2 separate regions of the Homo sapiens genome follow, and region 1 is linked to region 2. Evidence: promoter capture Hi-C in 16 types of primary human blood cells and fetal thymus (Javierre and others, 2016). All regions are on one chromosome and are shown on one strand. The core of a region is centred on a gene start or on the middle of the fragment in contact, and the rest is flanking DNA. Distances in the headings are between cores, read along the strand shown.

Region 1 (6,221 bases), core at 1,779-4,278, 360 kb before region 2:
CAAGAGCGTCACTTTCACTGCTCCTAATCATTCCTCCGGTTTTGGGGTGAGTCACTATTGTTAGTCTAAGCCTTCCATTGTTGTTCTTTTCACCAAATAGGCCACATGATGGTATCATTCACTATAGAAATGTACACCAGCCCACCATGGATAAATGCTCCCTAGGGATTTGTTGAGGGAGTGAAGGAAGAAACTAGAATGGAAGGTCTTGATGGGAGAGAGGAAGAAAAAAAAGCTTACCAATTCAGACTTCCATTTAACTTTAATAAATCTCTTACTAATATTTTTACTCTATTTGAACCTGTATAAAAGAGATCGGGGTTGTCTGCTCTTGCTTTTAAACTATAATCAATATCTGATAGATATTATGATAATTCAAAATAAGTGTTTATTACTCCAGAAATTAGCCCTATATGCAAGTCCAGCTCTTTTCTCATTGTTCTGAGTTTATTCTTCCAAGTTTCAAAGCAATGCATTAATGACTTCAAAAATGACTTCAAATAAATTTGCCCATAGGCATTTTTCTGTTTTTAAACAAGTACTTCTTCAGATTACATGAGTCAATAGGAATCTGAAATTTCCCTAAGAATTAATGGTACCAAAACTAATCTGTATCACCACCGGGAAAAGTGCTGGCTTGGGATTCAGGAGACCTGCATTCTAGCCCTATCTCTGCCACTGACCATCCCCAGAATCTGAGGTTATGTGACTAGACAAGCTAAGATCCCAACCAGTTCTAGAATTCTACAATTTGCAAGATTTGGAAACTGACATCTAGATATATAGATATATCTACATACACAGACACCAAAGTAATCGCCCTGGTGGTAGGAGAATCAAGTGAAAAATCACAAAGTGATGGGAAGAAAGAAAGGAAAGAAAAACAACATTTGTCTCTCCTATTGCATGACTTAGCATTGACAGTTATCAGTCCTACCTTTTTCACTGTGTCCTTCAGCTTTTGCACATTCCTCTGGATATGCAGGTCATCACCTTCAATATGCTATAAAACAATAACAAGCATAACTATCTTAATGTTGTGCTGAAACTTTATGAACCTCCACACCCATGGAGGTACAGTACAATTCACCTGGAATTAAAGCTCTTAGTAATTTTGCCCACAATGACCTAGATTTCAACAGTGACCTAGATTTCCTGAGCTCTTGAATTCCCTTGGACGCCAGAATCCAGTCACTTCCCTTACAAGAGACCTCTCTTCATCTTTGGGAAATCCTACTGAGGTTTGCATTTGTGGAAAGAGCGGAGTAGTTTATGCAAATTCTGTAAGGAATAAAACCTCAATCGTATCTCCAGAAAATTGCATGCTTAGAACAAGAAATGTACATAAAACATCTCATGTGAAAATTAAGCCCTCTTCAGTAAGTCCTAGGGCCTTTTACTGGGCCCACTCCACTCAAACTTTTTTTCATAGTTTCAAATGTTCAGCGGCATCAAGTTCACACGCCTCCGATTTTGTGGCTTCCCATGACATCAACAGGGCAACAGTCTGCCGACCCACCACCGACTTTAAGCCTTCCCATTTCCCACTTTCTCTTCTAATTTCTCTCCATGCCATCCCCTCCCCTCAACAACTTAGACTCAATGGATCCATTTCCACATCTAGATGTTTTTCCCAACACCTTTCTCATCTTACGCAACCTGAGTTGCCTTTTTTCCGAAGACAAACCAATGCGGCTTCTGTACACTTAAGTTCCAGACCCCATTCACCACTATAAACTCAAGATGTGACTCAGTCAAAGCAAAAGCAAATACTCTATGATCCCAAATGACTCCTGATAACACTGCTGCCAAGACACTTCTTCCTGCTAGCTTAGGGGTAGGGGGAAGGAGAGAGAGTTGGGGTAAGGGGGTCTCTGTGGAAGGAGGGAAGGAGGGGTAGGTGGGCATAGGCTGAGAGCTGAACTTACACATGTGCTTAGCCTGTTGCTGAGCCTGGCCAGGAAGGGCACCACCTCCTGCATATAAGGCTGGAACCTATCAGATTGAGGGAACAGCACTTCTTCAAGGGTGAAGTTCAGCACCTGCTTCATCAGATAGCAGCGCTCACTCATCTGCAGGTGGAAGGGAAACAGAAAGGGTCATAAGGGATAAGACCTAAACCATCATCACCACCACCCCAAGTACCCATGGACGGCACACGGCCCTGTTCGTCACAACTGTAGCTTACACTGACTCCGTGGAACAGTTTCTCCCCAATGAGACGAACGTCTGTGTTGTTATCAGCCAAGCTAGCCTGGAAGAGAAGAAAAGACTAAGGGTCTGGACATTGAGCAAATAGAAAAAAAATTTATACATAGACATGTGCCCCATCCCGTCTCCCCAGAGCAACATCATAAAGACTAAAAGCAGAATTCAGATGTGTGCATGAGTTTAGAACAATGCACAGAGGCATAAAGGAAAAAAAAAATCATCAGATGGATTACTGAATGGCCGCTCTTTGGGAAAAATTCATCATATGTATCATAAAGGCCAAAATGGAAGGAAGAAGTTCAAGAAAAAAAAAAAAGCCAGATTCCCAAAGAGTCTCTGAAAAAACAGAAAATTTATCTACCCTCAGGGATAAACAGTGGGTTCCTAAAGCTCTTAGAGATGCTCTGAAGAAAAGTTTAAGAACTATTTGGATTCCAAGTAGATCCAACGAGAAAGAGCAGGATTGAGATGTATACCTCCTTAGCCAGCATGAAGGTGCGGTTGGTGATATAGGGCTGCTGGAAGTTGGACTTGTCAAGCCTGCAGTGGGAGCTGATGGGCGCAGCTGCTCCTCCCTGTACCAAGAGGGCCAAGAGAAGGAGGCAGCTGGTGGCCAGGGTCCCCATAAGGAAAGAGCTCACAGATTTCTGCAGGGCGGCCATTGCAGACAATTCTAACTCGAGCAACTGGTGACTGGGGAAGGAGAACCTGGTCGAAGACAACGTGAAGGAACAAAATTAGTCAAGAAGTATTTCATCAAACTAACCAATTGTACCAAGTTTGCCGAAACGCTTACCTGTTCTGAAGATTCTGCTTGTGACGGGGAAGGTAGAAGCTGCTGCTTTTATAGCCCCCAGGATACTGACTTTTTTTTAATTGTGAAAAATATGACATCAGCAATTATCTAATTTCCAGTACTGTCTTCTGAGAACGACCTAACCACCACAGGAGCCCACAAAACACCACCTCTATCCTTTCCACCTTGAGATGCAAGTGTTTCCCTAAAACGTCACTATTAGAGCCCGGAGGGTATTTTACAGACAAATCCCAGAAATTTTCTAAACCCTACATATTTTTCAAAGAACACAATTGTTTTGTCTTAGTAGAGTTCAGATTTAGTATAAAATGTTTTGATCTCCTATAGTGGCTGAGTAAGCATTTTGGTCACGGACTCATTTTCCTACCAGCTTTATAGATTCTTATCTCATTGGAGGTGATCAGAAAAAAAGGACCCATGTCCTATATCCTCTGCTTTAAAGTAAATGGTAATGACAGCTAACAGATCATTCCATTATTAAAATAATTTTATCTCATTTTTAAACATGCTGAATTCTAAACCAGACTTATGTTTCAAAAATAACTGTCTTGGCTAATCTAATTATTGTTTTCTTCCCTTTTTGGAACTATTTTTAAGTGATCATAACAATTAAGGCAGAAGTAAATATATCTTAAAATTGTATTAATTGAATTATAATCAATATCAACTTAAGTTTGTAAATACTAATGCTGAAAATCTGATCTCCTTTTTTCTTAACATGTAAACTTTTTTTAAAATAAAAGAATACCATGGATATAGTTCATCTTAAAATTTTACCTAATTCTACACTTCACACAAGTCTCAACATAATATTTCCAAATAATCCTATAACAACTATATATGTGTGTGTATATATATTATATATGTGTGTATACTATATATATACATATATATGCAACATTTTATATATATACATATATACACACACACACATGGATGTCTGAAGAAGGGAATATAGGAATATAGAGGTTCCGCGTTACCTTCAAATTATTTAAAAATACACCTAAAACTAGACTGGAAATTCTCCCGCAGAGCAAGGAAGCAAATGCAAGTATCAAAATGCAAATACCTATTGCTGAGGGAAGGAATGTGAATTAGTGCAAATTTGTATAATCAGATTTTTCTCCTCACAACTAGTTAAGATCAGGAGTGTTGAAGAACTGGAAGTAGGGATGTAAATAATTGTAAAACCTAGACCACTTTTTGAGATGGCACAGACCTAAGCAAGGTGCCACTGCAAAGGGTCGGAACCACATGAGGACACTGAGCATTTGTGAAGGTGGCCAGAGGAGAAAGAAGCAAAAATGAAGATTAGTGAGAGTAAAAAACACCACATGATCACACTTGCATGTGGAATCTAAAACACTTGAACTCATAGAAGGAAAGAGTAGAATGGTGGTTGCCAGGGGCTGGGTGGGCAAGGGGCAGCGAGATGGGGAGATGTTACCCAAAGGATACAACATTTCAGTTAAAGAAGAGGAATAAGTTGAAGAGCTCTATTGTCCATCATGGTGATGATAGTTAAGAACAATATATCGTATGCTTAAAAATCACAAAGAGCATAGATTGTAAATGTTCTCATTACAAAAAAAAATTTCAAGTATGTGAGGTAATGCATATATGTTAATTCACTCAATTTAGCCATTCCACAATGCATGCGTATATCAAAACATATATGAAATCAACCTAAGTATCCACAGATGGATGGATGAATGGATAAAGAAAATGTGGTATATATACACAATGGAATACTATTCAGCCATAAAAGAAATGTAATCCTGTCATTTGCAATAACGTGAATGAACCTGAAGGACACCATGTTAAGTGAAATAAATCAGATGCGGAAAAACAAATACTGCATGATCTCACTGATATGTGGAATCTAAAAAATAATAATGATAATAATAAAGTTGATATAGAAGCAGAGAATATAACAGTGGTTTACCAGAGACTGGGGGAGTAAGTGGGGAAAGGAGGATGGGGAGAGGTTGGTCAACGGGTACAACGATACAATTAGAAGGAATAATTTCGGTGTTCTATTACACAGTAGAATGACTGTATTTAACAGGAAAATATTGTATTTTACAAAATAGCTAGAAGAGAGGCTTTTGAAGATTCTCACCACAAAGTAATGATAAATGCATGAGGTGATGGATACACTAACTAACCTAATTGTATCATACAGCATACACTTATATCAAAACATCAAATTATACTCCATAGATATGTACAATTATAATGCATCAATTTAAAAAATAAGTAATTTTTAAAACATCATATTGTGTAACATAAATACTGTATATATAATTTTTATTTGTCAAATAAAAATAAGATTTTTTTTCTGAATTGAAAAAAAATAGGTGTGTTCCAAATGTTTCCTTGGGGTTGACCATGGGCCCAAGAAAAGATGATGAAACTCTTCCTTATTCAGTTTCCTATTATATATGGCCATTTTTGCCCAGAACTCCGTATAATTCTATTAGCACTAGATTTAAGCTATTCATCGATTAAATAGGCTTTTGTGGGTTTGCCTGGGAAACTGACCAGCATACATAATTTTCTTTCCACGGGAAAATAAGTTTTGACATCGTTGAATTACATGCTTTCGAGGGAAGAGTCTCTGTCTCTTTCGTCTTTGTGACTCCAACACTTAGAACAGTGCTACACACATAGGAAGGACTCAATAAAAGCATATTGACAGCCTTTACGGTATTTCTAAAGTTGATGTTTGACCCAGTCCTGCTTACCAGCTTATTGTTCCTGAATAGAAAATAAATCACTGTGAAACAGAAAGAGAATGTCAGAAAATTGCAAAGCCCTCTTTAAGAGCAGCAGTGTGTCTCTTATTCATTGTATGCCCCTGATGGACCAAGCATCAAGAAGATAGTGTTAATGGAGCCTAGATCTTAAGTTTCAATGAGTTTAACTAAAACTCACTAAAGGGAAAATCTGCTCTGGTGTTGTATGGGGGTTTCTGAACAGTCATACTAGGAGTCTCAGAAATATTTGCTATTAGAAGAGATTGTGAGGCTGGGCGCAGTGGCTCACGCCTATAATCCCAGCACTTTGGGAGGCTGAGGTGGGCAGATCACCTGAGGTCAGGAGTTTGAGACTAGTCTGGCCAACATGGTGAAACCCTGTCTCTACTAAAAATACAAAAATTAGCCGGGGGTGGTGGTGCACCTATAGTCCC
Region 2 (6,085 bases), core at 2,679-5,178:
AAATTATTTTTGTAGAAACAAGGTCTTACTTGTTACTATGTTGCCCAGGCTGGTCTCCAGCTCTTGAGGTTCAAGTGATCCTCCCACCTCAGCCTCCCAAAGCGCTGGGATTACAGGCGTGAGCCACCACACTTAGCCGATTTTCACATTTTTAAATGGCTAAAAGAAAAAAAAAAAAAAAGAACATTTCGTGACACGTTAAAATTACTTGAAATTCAAATTTTAGTGTCCATAAATAAAGTTTTATTAGAATACAGTCAGGTCTATTCTTTATGTATTATCTATGGCTGCTTTTGTCCCACAACTGTAGAGTTGAGTGGTTGCAACAGAGACCATCTGTCTGGCCCACAAAGTCTAAAATATTTACTCTCTGGCCCTTGACAGAAAAAGTTTGCAAATCCCTATTCACAGGAAGGTCAAACACAAGTGACAAAGAAAAGCAGCAATAAAATGTTTCAGGGATTCTAAAGAGAAGAGAATACATAAGGTTAGAAGTATCAGAAAAGAAGCTCTTTTTTTTTTTTTTTTTTTTTGAGACGGAGTCTCACTCTGTAGCCCAGGCTGGGGTGCAGTGGTGCGATCTCTGCTCACTGTAACCTCCGCCTCCCGGGTCCCAGTTCAAGCAGTTCTTCTCCCTCAACCTCCCGAGTAGCTGGGATTACAGGCATGTGCCACCATGCCCAGCTAATTTTTGTATTTTTAGTAGAGATGGGGTTTCACCATGTTGGCCAGCCTGGTCTTGAACTCCTGGCCTCAAGTGATCCGCCCGCCTCTGCCTTCCAAAGTGCTGGGATTATAGGCTACCGCGCCTGGCCAAGAAGCTCATTCTTAAGAGAAAGTAGATAAACCTTGAATAATGGGCAAGGTATTTGCAGAATGAGATGGAATGGGAAGGGGCATTCCAGGCAGAGGAAATCATTCACCTATGCACAACAGAGAGATGGGGAAGCAAATTATGTGGGCCAGATGAAAAGTCCACTGTCCATTCTGACTATAAATCAGTTTTGAGTGAAAGGAAAAAGTGAGACACAGGATTTTAATTTTATTTTGGTAGAGTGGGGAGTAATTGAAGGCTCTTTGAGGAAGGGAGTGACTTGCTTGGTATGCTTTAAGATAATCATCTGGCAACAATGTATAGAATGGATCACAGCAGGAACAGACTGGAGGCCACCAGGCTGCAAAGGTCCAGGGGATGAGTTCTGCCAAACTAAATTTGGCAACTAAAAACTAAGTATGGTCTTAGTTGAAATGGAAAAGAGGAAACACAATGAAAGACCTTGTCGAATTACTATCTAATAGATATGCCAATTGATGGATTATTCAAGAAGAGCAGAGAGCTAAGTATCAGGCTTGAAGATTGGGTAATTTAAAAGATGGTGATACAATTCACAAAGGAAGAGGAAAAGAAACTGGTTTGGTTACAAAGACGATGAGTTCAGTTTGCACACATGACCAGTGCAAATTGCCAGTGGAATATCCTGGAGAAGAAGTCAAGGAAATAAATAGGAAAGAGGCTCAAACTGAAAAGTGAGTTCAGTGTTAAGAGATGCAGATTATGGTATTCTCTGCATAGTGATAACAGTTTAATACAAATAACAATGATTTCCAGTCTAATAAGAGAAACTGTGTTTTTAATTAAATAGATTATTTTACACGTTCTCTCAAACTCTAAAAATTCTAGCTTCAATTTTCTAAAACCAATTTCTTTCTGGAAAAAAAAAATCAATTGCCCAAAGGACAAAGAGTTTTTCTAAAAAAAGAAAGAAAGAAAAAGCACAGTGTTCCCAGGTAACACTTCTGTGAGCTCAAAGTTTCAGACTTTCAGTTATCAAATTTTTATGCAATAACTGAAAAGTTAGTAAAGTCAAATTTATTTGTAATTCACTCATTCATTGAGAAGTTACAGTAATTCCAACGGACTGCTCTGAAATTTGCCTTTGAAACTTTTATTTAAAAAGGTTTTCTAAAGAATGGATGTTAAGTGTTCTCATAAAAAAATGCTAACTCAAGGCCAGGCGCGGTGGCTCACGCATGTAATCCCAGCACTTCGGGAGGCCCAGGCGGGCGGATCACCTGAGGTCGGGAGTTCCAGACCAGCCTGACCAACATGGAGAAACCCCGTCTCTACTAAAAATACAAAATTAGCCGGGCGTGGTGGCGCATGCCTGTAATCCCAGCTAGTCGGGAGGCTGAGGCAGGAGAATCGCTTGAACCCGAGGGTGGGAGGTGGGGGCGGAGGTTGCAGTGAGCCGAGATCACGCCATTGCCTTCCAGCCTGGGCAACAAGAGCGAAACTCTGTCTCAAAAAAGAAAAAAAAAATGCTAACTCAGCCGGCGCGGTGAGTCACGCCTGTAATCCCAGCACTTTGGGGGGCCCAGGCGAGCGCATCACCTGAGGTCAGGAATTCGAGACCAGCCTGGCCAACATGGCGAAATCCCCTTTCTACTAAAAATTAGCTGGGCGTGGTGGCACGCGCCCGTCATCCCAGCTACTCGGGAGGCTGAGACAGGAGAATCTCTTGAACCTGAGAAGCAGAAATTCCAGTGAGCCGAGATCATGCCACTGCACTCTAGCCTGGGTGACAGAGCAAGACTCTCAAAAAAAAAGGTAACTCTGTGAGGTAATGTAACAATGTATACATTACTTCAAACGATCATGTTGTATACACAATAAATGCAGACAATAAACAATTTTTAAAAAGATATTTTTCTAAGGAAATAGAAATTATCGAAATAGGTAATCTACTCAATTAACCTAAATTGTAAAACATTATAAAACACAGAGAACTGTTATAATTCATTCTCATCTATTCATTTAACTTAGGTTAGCTTAGTTTTCAATCACTACATATTCTTAAACGGAGTGAAATTAGTCACATTCCATTTATCTTCCAAATTTATCAACGTTTATTAAGATTTATTTCAAGAATAATTTGTACAGGGCCTAATTAAATTATGAACCAAGAAAGTTAGTCTTAAATGACCCCTCAATCCCTTTTCCCTGCACTTTGCTCTCTTAATCTCCTCGCCCATCAAAACTGCTTCAAGAAAAAGTTCTGATAAATTTCTTGTACTAAGGGTAAGTAAGAATGGTAAATTCCCGTGTTAAGTTCCCGCCCTTTTTGGAACGAGGCATTTTGGAACAGAAAGTGTTTTCTGGTGCCCTGAAGTCACACGATAAACCTACTTGCCTATGGGTAATCCTGTGAAGTGAATAAAGCGTCCAGGACATGCATTTAAATACGCAATTTATTTTAGTTATATAAATGGCGTTGGTTTAGGTGCAGGGTACAAACTTATTTAGAAATCATCGATTTGTTAACTGCGTTTGGCATGGGAATTTGGAAAGAGTTCGCCCGGGTTAAGACACCAATGGATAAAACACTTGTCAATCCAGGAGAAAAGGCATCTCAAGAATGGAAAGACTTGCTGGCCCAGGCTCCCTCGGGGAGCTCTAGGTGTAGAAAATGCGCGCTCTCCGTTACTTCTCGGTTACTTTGCCCAGCACAAAGGACGACGCGAATACCAACAGACTGGACGAGTCGGTGACTACAGTTTGCATTAAGAGGCGGCGCCTTTTGGGTTTCGGAGGGTTCCACTGGAACCCACGAGGGTCAGGAACACCGACGCGCGGATTCCGCCCACCAGACAGCCTGGGGAAGCGAGCCTGAAGGCGCGGCGCAGCTAGAGAGAAGAACCTCGGCAGACATGCCGCCCAGAGGCAGCTAAGGGGCCCGTGGGCAGGGCCTGCGCTCCGGCTGCGATGCAGGCCGGCTAGAGGCCGGCGCCGAGGACCCGGCGCGCGGCGGCCCCGCCCCCTCGGCTCCCCTCGCCCCGCCCCCTAGGCCCGCCCCTTCCCGGGCCGCGCACCCGCGCGCCCCGCCCGCGGGCGGAAGCTGGAGCGAGGCTGAACGCCTGACGTCAAGGCGACATCGCCAAACCTCGCCCAGATTCAGGCGTGTAAACCAGCCGGAGCGGCGCGGCAGCGGCAGGACCGCCGTGGCGCCTAGAGTAGCGACCCGGGGGGAGCGCGGGGCGACGCTGGCTGCAGGGACCCGGTGACAGCGTGAGAGGTTCGCAGAGTGAGTGCGTGGCCGCTGAGGGAAGCCGCGGCGGCGGCCGCGCGGGGCCGGGCGCCGGCTGAGGGGAGCGGGTGGGGTGCGGCGAGGCGCGGGCCGGGCGCGGCGGTCAGGGGCCCCGGCGGCGGCAGCCCCTCGGCGCGCGGCAGGTGGCGCGAGGGCCAGGCGCCGGGCCCGCGAGCGCGCTGCCTTGCGGGCCGGCGAGGAGGAGCAGCCGCCGCCGCCGCGGGAGAACAGCGCGCTTTGCGGAAGGGGTCAAATGTCTGAAATATGGCGGAGGAAGTGAGAGCCCGAGGACCCCCCCACCCGCCCGCTCTCTTCAGCCCGCGTCCGCCGCAGCTTCTCCCGCCGCCCTCCTTTCCCCGCCGGCTCCCCCGAAGACTCGCTCCCCGCCCCGAGCCCCCTCGCTTGTCGCCTGGGTTCCCTCCGTGGTATGGGTGGAAGTTAGAACGGAAACCAGAAAGTTGTCCTTTGCGAAGACCTAGCTTCTCCCAGCCCCGAGCTAGGGCGAGGAGCCTTCGGGGGAAACCACTCCCAGGCGCCCCGCGGGCTTGAGCCTGACAGCGAAAAAGTTTGCCTGAAACGGGGCTTGCTTGCTCCATTTGTTGCGGGAAGTGGCAGGAGGAAGGCAGCGGAGAGAGCCCCACTTAGTCTGGCAGCAGCCACCGTGTAGAGAAAAACTGTTAAAGGGGCCTTTCCCTTCGTCAGCAAGAGGAAATCTCTTTCTCTTAGAGGGAGAGAAAATCCAGGAAGTTTGTCCTCTTCTCTTTTTCGCCATCTCGAGGTGTCTAATCCTAAAACTATCAGCGCCATGAATTTTATTTAAAACTACGCCCAGTGAACCGGGCTCTCCGGATTTTTCTTCTGAAAAACACTGATGTCTTTTGGAGAAAAGATCATTTTTGCAAGTTAAAGCAGATGGTTTCCTTCCCCTTCGCTTTCCCCCCTCTCCCACTCTCTTTAATAGTTTAGAAAAACATTTTGGCCCTGTAACTTCTGATTGGTATGAATAGAAGCAGTTCTGTGTTGCAGTAAGGGGAAATCACATTTTTACGGGGTAGAAAGTTGACACTAAATGAAGATTGTGATTTTAGTATTTTAAAATTAATTCCGTCTAATTGGATTTTGGTTTTGCAGGCAGCATCTCATATATGTCGAGTACTTAACAATTTAAAGCTCTGACTTGTAAATTTATTTTTCAGCTCTCTTTTTTCGTAATTAGAATACTGTTTGGACTTGCTCAACAAGACCTTATCTTAACAAAAAGTAACTTATAGAAAAGGGAGACATTCATTTAACTTCAAGCCCATATTATTCTTAAAAGCTGACTCTTGAAATAGTATTTATTGAGTCATAGTGGAGTCATGGGACTTTTTAAGGGCCGGAAGGGACTATTTAGATCATCCAGTCCCACCCTGTCATTTTATGGAGGAGGAAACTGAGGCCTAGATAAGATAACCAGTTAGTGGGTCCACTGACCTTTAGGACAGTAGTCTATCCGTAAGAGACAACATGGAGAAAGAAATACAACGTTTTTATAGTGAATTATCATCTTACAAAGAATATTCTTCCCATATCGCACTTTTAAAAAGTGGGTACCTTAGTCAAATAGGAGAAAAAACCACTTGAGTAGTTTCATCCTCAGGTTTTAGGTGAGGAAACTGATACTCAGATTAAATAACTTTAAGCACACAGAGCCTGAATGATAGTCTTATTTGAGCTCATCTGTGCTTTTAATGTGTACTACGTTAGGTGTTTTCACTTGCATTTCCTTTAGTCTTATTTGAGCTCATCTGTGCTTTTAATGTGTACTACGTTAGGTGTTTTCACTTGCATTTCCTTGTTTGACGTTGACAATAAATCGTGAAGCTGCCTTATCTAAGGAAGTCCTAAAGTAAATCATTGGAACACATGTAGCCAGTTTGTTGTTTTTAATATGCCAGGTATCAAAATATAACTGAAGAACCAATGCTAAACTGACTTAATTTTAAAATGTTGTATGGGGC

What was found. The method cuts DNA at HindIII sites, captures the fragments that hold promoters and counts their contacts. A CHiCAGO score of 5 or more calls a contact.
Region 1: the fragment with the promoter of IL22 here is called in contact with the fragment with the promoter of RAP1B in region 2 in 5 of 17 cell types (M2 macrophages, monocytes, naive CD8 T cells and 2 more); the score reaches 8.2 in M2 macrophages.

What each region holds. Positions count from the first base shown.
Region 1 is chr12:68,250,576-68,256,796 of GRCh38, forward strand. It overlaps IL22 (interleukin 22), which reads right to left and starts at 3,029. Exons shown (of 6, transcript NM_020525.5): 1 at 3,008-3,029; 2 at 2,688-2,919; 3 at 2,189-2,254; 4 at 1,929-2,072; 5 at 938-1,003. The coding sequence starts at 2,873. The HindIII fragment of the contact is 7,204 bases long and covers 234-6,221 here.
Region 2 is chr12:68,606,971-68,613,055 of GRCh38, forward strand. RAP1B (RAP1B, member of RAS oncogene family) reads left to right here and starts at 3,929. Exons shown (of 8, transcript NM_001010942.3): 1 at 3,929-4,073. RefSeq lists a silencer at 3,786-4,245. The HindIII fragment of the contact is 9,459 bases long and covers 1-6,085 here.